Regions from separate parts of the Homo sapiens genome. Here regions 1 and 2 are each linked to region 3. Evidence: promoter capture Hi-C in human tissues and cell types (Jung and others, 2019). All regions are on one chromosome and are shown on one strand. Each heading gives the region's core, a stretch centred on a gene start or on the middle of the fragment in contact. The rest is flanking DNA. Distances are from core to core; before and after follow the strand shown. Region 1 overlaps CMIP (c-Maf inducing protein). Region 2 overlaps CMIP (c-Maf inducing protein). Region 3 holds the start of GCSH (glycine cleavage system protein H).

Region 1 (3,842 bases), core at 79-2,578, 610 kb before region 3:
GGTGTTCCAAGGCCACGATCCTCCCACAGGCGTCTGTGTGTGTGTGTGTCTGTGTGTGTGTGCCTGTATGTGTGTATATCTGTGTGTGTCTGTGTGCACGTTTGTGTATGCATGTGTCTGTACATGTGTGTGTCTGTGCACGTCTGTGTATATTTGTGTGTGTGTGTGTTGGTGTGTCTCTGTGTGTCTGTGTCTGTGCATCAGGGTGTGTGACTGGCTGCCTCACTCCTGGGCAGCAGCTCATGCCAACACTGAGGCCACACTCAACTCTAATGCCTGAAGACACCAGCGCATGCCTGAGCACCGGACTGGGAGGTTCCTAAGACAACCTCCACACTCCCCTCCATCCTTGAGTGTCAGCGGCCCTGTGGCTGCCCGGAATGAAGGCTGATTTAGTGTGTGGCCCCACACACTAAATCTGGAAAATGGGATGTAAGTAGACATGTCAAGTAGAACTTCCAGGAAGTTTCTTAAGAGGAAGGGGCACGTTCTCCTTCCTGCTGGCTGGAATGGAGACAAGAGGTCTGGAGCCTGAGCAGCCCTTTTGGTCCAGGAAGTAGAAGCCATGTGTCAAATATAATGGGGGCATCAGAATAGAAGGAAATAAGACCCTTAAAGACCTTGTGAAATGCGAATGGTAAGATACACAAGCTTCCAAGGGTTGCTGTGAGGATAAAACAAACTAATAGAAGAGCATCTGACACACAAATGCTCAAGGTATATCTGCTATTATTCCAAGTACTATTAATAACTAGATATCAACACTATTATCACCAACAATCTGTATCATATTTTAACTTCCTTTTTGGTTTTCATTTCTCTTCCTGTAACCCAGCTACCTCCTGGAAGAGCTGGCGTGTTAAGTACTAGGGGGTCCTTGTGCCCCGCCCTCCATCACCTCCCATCTCAGCAGCAGACACCACCTGCCGTTCCCCAACAGAGAGGACCAACCCACCTTCTCCATCCAGCCCCAAAGAGAACCAAACCAACTCACTGTGGACTTGGAGGGCAGTGTTAGCCTGGTGGGCCCGCCTTTCCTTTGCTGCAACAGAAACCAGGCTGGTTACAACCATTCTTTTCCCCAAGTTTCCATTCTAGACTTCCACCTCTGTTAACAACACTCATGGAGCCATCGTTATTTTCTTGGTGGTACAAGGCAACACGGTGGTCTTGGTCTCAGGGGCAAACCCGGAGATGAGGTTTGAGCACAGGTGGTTTACTGGAGGGTGATCCCAAGAAACACCAGTGGGAGAGTGGGGAAGTGACACTGTGGCTACCTATAATGGAAGGGGTGTTATCAATCCAGCTATCACTGGGTGGGTACTGGCACCAAATCCCACCGGGGGACTCTAAGAAATGGTGGAGAAGCCATGTCTCAAACATATCTCACTGAAGGGGTGAGGGAGCTGGGGTATTTCTACACACTCTCCCCAGAAGGGACTGGTTGAGGGCTGCTCCAGGAGATCAGAAGGCATGAATTTCCTGCCCCTTCCGTCCTTCTGTGTACACATGTGTGAGTATATGCATGTGGACATACAAAGTCCTTCAGCAAAGAGGTGTGGGTGCTGGCATTTGGAAGTTGGGTCCCCCATGTACTGAAATGGAAGGGTCTAAGGGACATGGAGGAGGGAGGGTGGGCAATGTCCTGGCCAGGCCCCAATGAGCTGTGTGACTCTGGGGATTGCTTTGCTTCTCTTTGATTACCTGAAAAGTGGCAGGTGGTAATACCAATTTCTGGGGTTTGGAGGAGAATTCAACGAGATTGAGGTCCACTCAGGTCCAAGTACTAGCTGCCCCGCATCCCGCCCTGGCCCCCCCTGGCCTGCTGGGCAGGGGAGTGGTCCGGAGCAGCCGGGGACTCACCAGCTCCTTCAGCTCCCGCTGCCGGTCACACAGCTGCTCGTACATGCGCTTCCCCACGTCTGTGCTCTCCAGGGTTGAGATGATCTGCAGTTGGGTGTCGTTGTTGTCGATGATGTTGTATTCCAGCATCAAGCACAGGATCTGTCCAGAACCGCAGGGGTGCATTACGGACCCGGCCTGCCACCCTAGCTCAGCACACTCTGTGCACCCCAAGGGCCTTGTTTTGAAAACCAGCAACCCCACTATCCCCTTTCTGCAGCCCCGGCTGTGTAAGCCTGGGCAAATCACCTGCCCAACTTCCTGCTTGTACAATGGTAGCACCAGTGACCACGCACTGAGGTTCTCCAGGTTCAAATGTCAATGGACATGGGAGTCTCCCAGGCATCTGCTTACCGTGCGGTGTCTGGACATGGGGCAGGCCCCCGGGGGATGTTTGCAGGCCCCTGAGCACTGGTGGAAAGGCCAGAAGTTAAGACACCTCTCTCTCCCCAGTTCCTTCCCCAGTGGCTGTCATGAAGTAGGTGCTCAAACTCACGGAATGGCTCAGAGCCCTGGGCCCATCTACCACACAGCTTCCTAGAGGGCCTCATGACTGCACATGTGGCTCTTCGGCCTGGGGGTCAACACGCCTGACAGCCCTGCCTCTGACATTCCCTTTCCAATGACGATTTTTTTTTTTTTTGAGATGAGGTCTTGCTATGTTGCCCAGGCTAGTTTCAACCTCCTGGGCTCAAGTGATCCTCCTACCTCAGCATCCCAAGTTGCTGGAACTACAGGTGCATGCCATGGTGCTCAGTTCTAGAACTTCTCACTCACCAAGGAGCAGGTCACTCAGCCCACGCTTCTCACAGCGCCTCTTGCCTGTCTCCTGTCTCCCTGCTCAGCCCTCCCCCATGGCCTCCGAATCCCTGTCACAGGACAGCCAAGATTAAATCCAAACTCCTTCCCAGCACCTCTAGGTACCCAGAAGGCTCTTCATGCCCATCCAGCCACATCCCAGACCTCTTGCCCCTTGGCTCCCTGTGTTCCAGCCACCCTGGCCTCCAGCAAGCCTCCGCCCGGGATGTCCCCACAGCCTGCTCAGCTCCCACCTTCCCGCTGCCTCTTCCCCAGGGCTCACATCTGCCCGAACTCTCATTTCCACGGGAGCTCCCATGGCTTTGCTGCGCCTGCCAACTCTTCGATGCTCTTCCCACTGAGGGGTGAAGTCTAGCTCCCACGGCTTTGACTGAGGGCCGGCCGCGGTGACTCACTGCCAGCAGGAGGATGTGGCAGAAGTGATGCCGCCTGCCTTCCAAGGGAGGCTAAGTTAAAAAGTGACATGGCTTCTGCCTTGGTTCCCTTGGGACAGTTGCTCTGGGAGTCTCAGGCTTCTGGGGACTTTGGGACAGTTGCTCTGGGAGTCTCAGGCTTCTGGGGACTTTGGAGCGTGCAGGGAGAGAGAGGAGCAGCAGCAGGTGAGGGGTGACCTGTGGGGCTGGGTGTGTGTGTTCTTGGCAGGTGGACAGGCTACCTGGAGGCCACGAGGTGAAGGGTGCGGCTGGGGAGCCCCAGCCGCCAAAGCCCTCATTGTCTGAGGCCTCTTAGGCCAATGCGAGAAGCCTTGGGGCTAACCCAACCTGGCCCCATCTGACTGATGAGGCCCCAGGTGAGAAGTGCGTAGCTGCGCCCAGGTACCCCAATGCCCATGTGCAAAAGAAATGAACGATCTTGTTTTAAAGCCCTCACTTAGAGGTGGTTTGTTACACAGCAATAAATGAGCAGAACAGAAGCGTCCCCAACCCCACTGATCAATGGATCAGCTGGATCACAACAGAAACAAATACACTGCATGATGAAGGCTCGAGGCTCCCACTAAGCTCAGGACGGCTGGGACTGCACGCCTCACCCACTGCCCCCCGTGCCTGCAGCAGCTCCTGGCTCCCAGCAGATGCTCTATCGGCACGGACAAGGGACGGGGAGCCAGCCACCCCACCAGG
Region 2 (3,612 bases), core at 793-3,292, 530 kb before region 3:
AGTCACCCCATATGCACCCCACACACACACACACACACACACACACACTCTCTCTCTCTCTGTCACTCCACACACCACACACACACCCACACCCACTGTCATAAAATAATCTCCCCACACCACACACCCTCATACAAATGACCCCACATGCCACATATACACACAAATAGTCACCCCACACACCACACACACACACTCATAAGCCACCCACACACCACACACACACGCACACCGTCACCCCACACACCACTCACACACTCATAAGCCACCCACACACCACACACACATGCACACCCATAGTCACCCCACACACCACACACACACATGCTCAGTCACCCCACACATTCATAAAAGTCACCCCACATGCCACACATACACACACACACTCATAAGATAGTCATCCCACACCCCACACACACTCATAGTCACCCCACACGCCACACACACTCATAAAATAGTCACCACACATACTCAAAACAGTCACCTCACACACCACACACAGACACACCAGTCACCTCACCACACTCATAAAATAGTCACCCCACACAACACACAGTCACACTCAGTCACTCTCGCTCTCACACACACTCACACATTCACTCTTACACACATTCTCACGCGCACACACACTCACTCTCACACTCACACACCCCACATTCTTTTCCACCTTTCTCCACAGAGGAGGGACAGAGGCCTGGGCCTGGATGCGGTGATCGAGGGGCTGTGGCCACCCTAGGGGGCTGGGAAACCTGCCCAGCAAGAAGAAGGCAGCGTGGCCAGGGCAGGCAGCCAGAAAGGATCCAAAGCTGGGCTGGGATTTTCCCAGAGCCAAGGGCACTCCTCTGGCCCTGGCAGCCCTGGGACAGGAATACAGGCCAGCTTCTTGTGACACACAGTCTGCTCATTGGTCCCCGGCTCTGGGGCTTGGCCCCTGGGGCTGTTCTGAGTGACCTCACTTCCCCTGGGGAAAAACCATCTTGGTTTCCAGGACTAGTGTGCCTCGGCCTGAGGAACCCCTCTCAGGAAGCGAGAAGGTGGAGAGGCACCAGGAGCTCCAGCTCCCATAGCAGGTGCATCCTGGCTTCTCGGGGCTCCTCTAGGAGCCTGGTGTGTGTCTCCTCACAGCCCAGTAGCCTGGACCTGTCACCTGGGCCTGTTCACATGGACAGACTTGTCCCTCACAGCTGTGCATACCTGGGTCTCTCACCTTGAAACCCTGGACACAGAAACAGGCCAATCTTCTCAATGCTTTGTAAACACACACGGTCCCCTCACAGCCTGAACACGCTCTTGGCCTTGCCCCACAGACTGGGCCTTCATGGCCTCGTGTGCACACAGGCCTGTGCCCTCACAGCCTCATGTGCAGACAGGCCTGTCACCACAGGGCTTGGCCTCTGAGGGCCAGGGCATGAGCCAGGAGGTACATCTGAGTCAGAAATGAAGCCTCATTAACCCAGAATAACTATTTAATGCTTCCACACCCCTGGGAATTAGCCTCAAGGGCTGAACCACCCAAACCAAACAGGGCTGGCCTCCCCAGGGGCCCTCAGGACTGCAGCTTCTGCTCTAGCGAATGCTGGGAGGTGGAGCAGCCATGGGCTGGGAGATCCTGGCCCTCCTCCTGCAGGCTCCAGGCCTCCTCAGATCTCCCAGACCAACATGGCAGAGGCCAGGCCGGGAGGGCTGGGAGGAAGAGCAGAGCTGCTCAGAGAAAGAGGCAAAGATGTTCAGGGTCTAATCCCGCTTGCCTTCTTGGTGGCCTTGGAACCTTGTGCGACTGACTTATCCTCTCTACACTCAGGTTTCCCCATCTGCAAATGTTGATAAGAACAGAACCTATTCAGTGAGAGGAAGTAATTCACAAAATGCAGTGTCCATTGCCGAGCAAACTCCTCCAACATGGGAGCTACAACCGTGTGTGAACAGCTCAAAGTTCTGAGCTGATGCCACAAAAACAACACTGTTACCCAGACGGAAAAGCGTGACCAAGATGACCTGGATATTTGCCTTCTTCCACAAAACAATTTGAGGTCAATTCCATAGCAGCGGTTGTCAATCGACCCTGTTATCATGACTGTCCCCATAAGGAACCCTAGTGTCTCCCTCATCTGTCCTCCCTTTGGAAGAAATACTCAAGAATAAGATTTCATTGAATAGGGTCGAGCTTTGGAGGGCCACAGACTATTGTAATCATTAAGATTTGTTTAAGTGTCAAGGAACCAATTTTGGTCCCATTAGGGGTGATGCTGCCCCTGTTGGGAATGGCCTAGAGATGCAAGTCCAACTTGATCAAAACTAAGCAATGGGGACACAGTATTTAGGAGGTGGCATTTTTTTTTTTTTTTTTTGAGACGGAGTCTCGCACTTTCGCCCAGGCTGGAAGTGGCATTCTTTACATACAGGAGAACGTATTCTGACAGTATGTGCACCGCAGCCACAGGAGACAAATGTATATTGGTGTAGGAGAGAAAATGACAAAAACAAGATAGCATTAGGAGATATACCTAACGTTAAATGACAAGTTAATGGGTGCAGCACACCAACATGGCACATATATACATATGTAACAAACCTGCACGTTGTGCACACGTACCCTAAAACTTAAAGTATAATAATAAAAACAAAAGAGAGTTAAAAAATTCAAGCTGAGGTGGTGGAATTTCTAAAGGTCCTCAATTTTGATGTTCCACTGATTTTTTTTTTTTTTCAGTTAAAGACAGAGAAAAGAGAAAAGAAACAAGGAAGGAAAAGAAAAAGAAAAACCTCAAATAGGTGGTTGTAAATAAAGAGGGGAGAGAGAGTGGCTGTATCAGCAGAAGCAGAGGGGTTATGTCCTGGGAGGGCTGTGGAGTCCCAATCTCAGAGAAAAGCACGGTGTGATCAAGGAGGAGGTAGGACAGCCCCACAGATCTGGATTGAAATCTGCTGGGCAACTGTAGGCAAGTCACTTGATCTCTCTGAGCCTTGGTTCTATTACCTGCTTAACGACAATGAACCAGAAATGACCTAGCCAGCCCTGGCATCTCACATGTACTCAGTAACTGCATCTGTATTAGGTGAACACTTTCTGGAATCTGCCCACAGAACCAGGATCCAAATTCACGTTTCCCAGCTAATTTGGCTAGCTGGCGGTACCTCCAAAACACCTTACGTTTCTTTGCCATTTTAAAAGGAAGGAGAGCATGCCTTCTCAAATATCACCAAAACTGGGTACAAAGAGCCACAGGAATTGAGATCAAGTTGCCAACACTGAAATATCACTGCCACCTGGTGGCAGCATACCTAAATTATTGGGGGGCAATTGTCCAAGGAGAAACACTGTGTCTGAAGCATGCTGTAGACACAGCCAAAGCTTACACCCTGAGAGCAAAGACTACCATTGATCACCTGGCAAGTGGGCCAGCACACACCCAGGCATCTGCCAGTTCCTTGACATCCTGATTTAGGTTTTCTGAAAATTTTTTAAACTGCTTGATTAAATTTAGCAACCATAAATAAACCGGATGCCACCATAATTGAATGCAAACATCCAGGTCTTCATGAGAGCTGCTAGAAACACAGTGATCCCAGTTCTGGACTTGCTCAATCAACTGTCTGAATCCCACATGCAAA
Region 3 (3,705 bases), core at 914-3,413:
TGTGGTGGCAACCCTAAGTTCATAGCAGGGCAGAAGCTCAGTGCAACAACGTATGGGCTCCCCAAACACACACACACTCCATGGTGTGCACCCTATGGTACTGTTTCCGGTGTTTGAACAAGAACAACTCCATTTTGAATATGGGCTGGGTAAAATGAGGCTGAGACTTGGTGGGCTGCATTCCCAGGAGGTTAGGCATTCTTTTTATTTGTATTTTTTTCTGAAGCAGAGTCTCGCTCTGTCACCCAGGCTGGAGTGCAGTGGCGTGATCTCGACTCACTGCAACCTCTGCCTCCCAGGCTCAAGTGATTCTCGTGCCTCAGCCTCCTGAGTAGCTGGGATTACAGGCACCTGCCACCATGCCTGGCTAAACTTTGGATTTGTAGTAGAGACGGGGGTTTCTCCATGTTGGCCAGGTTGGTCTCGAACTCCTGACCTCAAGTGATTCACCTGCCTCACTTAGTCACAGGATGAGCTAGGGTTGGCACAAGATACAGGTCACAAAGTCCCTGCTGATAAAATAGGATGCGGTAAAGGAGCTGGCCAAAACTCACCAAAACCAAGATGGCGACCTCTGGTAGGTCTCACTGCTCATTATACGCTAATTATAATGCATTAGCATGTTAAAAAAAAAACAACTCCCACCAGCGTCATGACAGTTCACAAATGCAATGGCAACGTCCAGAGAAGTTACCCTATAGTCCAAAAAGCGGAGGAACCGTTAGTTCTAGGAAATCCCTGCCCCTTTTCTGGAGAACTCTTGAATGATCCACCCCTTGTTTAGCATACAATCAAGAAATAACTATAAGTACACTTAGTCGAGAAGCCATACTGCTGCTCTGTCTACGAAGAAGCCATTCTTTTTTTTCTTTACTTCTCTATTAAACGTGCTTTCACTTTATAGACTCTCCCCAAATTCTTTCTTGCATGAGGTCCAAAAACCCTCTCTTGGGGTCTGGATTGGGAGCCCTTTCTGTAACAGTACTAAAGGTGTGTGTGTAGCTTAAGGTGTTTTTCAGAACAGTATTTCTTTGCTGACTCATGGCCACTCCATAAAATCTGTGTTAAAGGTGAGGTTTTTCCCAGAACCTAATTTTTTTCTGACTTCTTGGATTGGGATGATGACTTCGGCTTTTCTCGGAAGGCCTTGGTCACACCGCTGGCCGATGAAACAAGGAATTGTGCACACTGGGTCTCAGCTCTCTGCGTTTTGAATATTTCTGCATTAGTGACTGGCTTGGGTCCAGTCTCCACCAAGAAGCCACTTATGACCCTTGGACAAGTCTTTATTCCTTTTTAAGTAAGCTTCTGGATTCTGCCGGTCCTGTTTGGGGTCCCTGGGGCTCTTTGAGACAGGAACGTTACAGAGCAGTTGAAGGAGAATAGAAACTTCCAGGCTGCAGTTCTGTCTAACAAAAGGAAACTGTTGAAATAGCTGCACAAGCTATGGGCTAAGACCCTGAAAAACCAGGGTGTGGGTCAACCTGGCTAAAACCAACTGGACCCAACGTGGTGTGGCTTTGACCTAGGCTTCACCTAGGACTCATTAACATACTAAGTCACACACCCACCGGCACCACAACAATTCCGGGAACACCCATATTTGGTGTAAAAATGGGTGGCACCACAGTTCTGACAAGTCTCCACCTTATTCCAGAAACCTTTGTGTATATTCCATTTCTCAAAGAAACCCATAAAGATGGAAACCCCAAGCCCCATTGTGTGGCCCTCTTTTGAGTCCGCCCTTTCTTCAGTGTGTACTTTGCAGTAAACCTCTGTACTTTCACGACTTTCCGACTTGTTCTTGAATTCCTTCGTGAGGTGGTGAAACCACCTTTGAAAACTTATGACAGAGGCAGTAAAAGAGATACACATGTGGAAAGGAACCCAGTCTGGGGCTAGGCCCCGCCCCCCTCCTGCGGGCAGCCCAATCATACCCAGGCCCGCCGCGCTAGTCTCCGCCTCTCGGTGCTGCCTCTTCCGGGCCTCAGGTTCTTCCCCATGCCCACGCCCCTCTTTCGCGTCGCCGTATCCGAGGTCGCGCCAGGCCCTGGAGTCCCCAGTCTCCGCGTGCTGGCCAATCAGACCCTGCCTCGCCCCCTCGCCTGGGAGTCTCCGCCCTCCACGCTCTGCCCAGTCAGGCTCTGTCCCGCCCCCGCGGCACCGCCTCCGCGCCTCCATCCAGCCGGCTCCCTCCGGCCGCGAACTGCCCCTCCCCGCCCCGCCTCCCGGCGCGGGTGGCCGAGGCGTAGCGCTGCGACCCCCGCACCCCTGCGAACATGGCGCTGCGAGTGGTGCGGAGCGTGCGGGCCCTGCTCTGCACCCTGCGCGCGGTCCCGTCACCCGCCGCGCCCTGCCCGCCGAGGCCCTGGCAGCTGGGGGTGGGCGCCGTCCGTACGCTGCGCACTGGACCCGCTCTGCTCTCGGGTAAGCGCGGCGGGCACGTGGGCGGCTGCTCCCTCCCCGCCTGGGCTGCTTGTCCCGGGCCCAGCGGGACACGGAGGACGCCGGGGCACCGCTCCTGAGCCACCGGGGCGGAGCGAGCGCGGACCCTGCCCCCTTCTTATTTCTGTTGGGATCCCTGGCTCTGCGGCCGCTTCTCCCCCTTAAGTAGCGGGAGGACCCGCGAGTAGCCTTTGCCCTAGGGATTGCATGCAGCCGGGAGGGGAGGCCTGCGGGACACCGAGGCGGGGGTGGCCCGGCGGGTCCGGCGGGCAGGTCGGCCGCTTGCTGCAGAAGCCAGGCACGTGTCGCTTAAGCGTCTCGGTGGCCTTAAGTTTATCTCCCATCTGCGTGCATCGTTGAGACCCCAAATGGGGAGGCCTTTAGTTTACTAAATGGACCGTTACTGAGAACTCCGAAGTAAAATTAAAACAGAAGCGCTTATTAAAATTAAAGCACCAGGCAGGGCGCGTTGGCTCATGCCGGAGGGCGGATCACGAGGTCAGGAGATCGAGACTATCCTGGCTAACACGGTGAAATCCCATCTCTACTAAAAGTACAAAAAATTAGCCAGGCGTGGCGGCATGCGCATGTAATCCCAGCTACTCGGGAGGCTGAGGCAGGAGAATCGCTTGAACCTGGGAGGCAGAGGTTGCAGTGAGCCGAGATCGCGCCACTGCACTCCAGCCTGGGCGACAGAGCAAAACTCCACCTCAAAAAAAAAAAAAAAAAAAAAAATTAAAGCGCCAGATCTAGATTTTTTTACTAGATAAAACAATCATAACTTTGAAGATTCAGCTATTTCCCCAAAACAAGTAAGATAAAGTCTTCTGGACTCAACAGAAGTTCTGCTAAAGTTTGTATTGGATCATTCATGTGTGTGCTTGCTGAAATGAGCCCTAACTCAAACGGACTTGAAATAACTGGGAAACCTGCCCATGAATGTTTCGGCCATTTGTGCTACTTCAGCACAATTATTGCAGGGGAAAAACAATTTTCTTTTTTTTTTTTTTTCTTTTTATTGAGACGGAGCCTCGCTCTGTCGCCCAGGCTGGAGTGCAGCGGCGTGATCTCGGCTCACTGCAAGCGCCACCTCCCAGATTCAAGCGATTCTCTTGCCTCAGCCTCCCGAGTAGCTGGGTTCACTGGCGCCCGTCACCACCTCCAGCTGAGTTTTGTATTTTTAGTAGAGACAGGGTTTCGCCACGTTAGGCTGGTCTCAAACTCCTGACCTCAAGTGATCCACCCGCCTCAGCCTCCCAA

The links. The method cuts DNA at HindIII sites, captures the fragments that hold promoters and counts their contacts. A contact is called where the count stands out against the background at its distance.
Region 1: a contact is called between a fragment that was not itself captured here and the fragment with the promoter of GCSH in region 3, in 1 of the 25 tissues and cell types used here (dorsolateral prefrontal cortex).
Region 2: a fragment that was not itself captured here is called in contact with the fragment with the promoter of GCSH in region 3 in 2 of the 25 tissues and cell types used here (dorsolateral prefrontal cortex and mesenchymal stem cells).

The regions. Positions count from the first base shown.
Region 1 is chr16:81,699,822-81,703,663 of GRCh38, reverse strand. It overlaps CMIP (c-Maf inducing protein), which reads right to left. Exons shown (of 21, transcript NM_198390.3): 16 at 1,864-2,004; 17 at 995-1,042. Among named protein-coding and RNA genes, the nearest start is that of PLCG2, 78 kb to the left of the region's middle. The HindIII fragment of the contact is 8,091 bases long and covers 1-3,842 here.
Region 2 is chr16:81,623,225-81,626,836 of GRCh38, reverse strand. The region is part of intron 3 of CMIP (c-Maf inducing protein); the gene reads right to left. Among named protein-coding and RNA genes, the nearest start is that of MIR6504, 14 kb to the right of the region's middle. RefSeq lists enhancers at 636-825, 3,340-3,409 and a silencer at 3,170-3,219. The HindIII fragment of the contact is 4,466 bases long and covers 1-3,612 here.
Region 3 is chr16:81,094,853-81,098,557 of GRCh38, reverse strand. It overlaps GCSH (glycine cleavage system protein H), which reads left to right and starts at 2,163. Exons shown (of 5, transcript NM_004483.5): 1 at 2,163-2,427. The coding sequence starts at 2,280. RefSeq lists silencers at 1,827-1,926, 2,077-2,746. The HindIII fragment of the contact is 10,346 bases long and covers 1-3,705 here.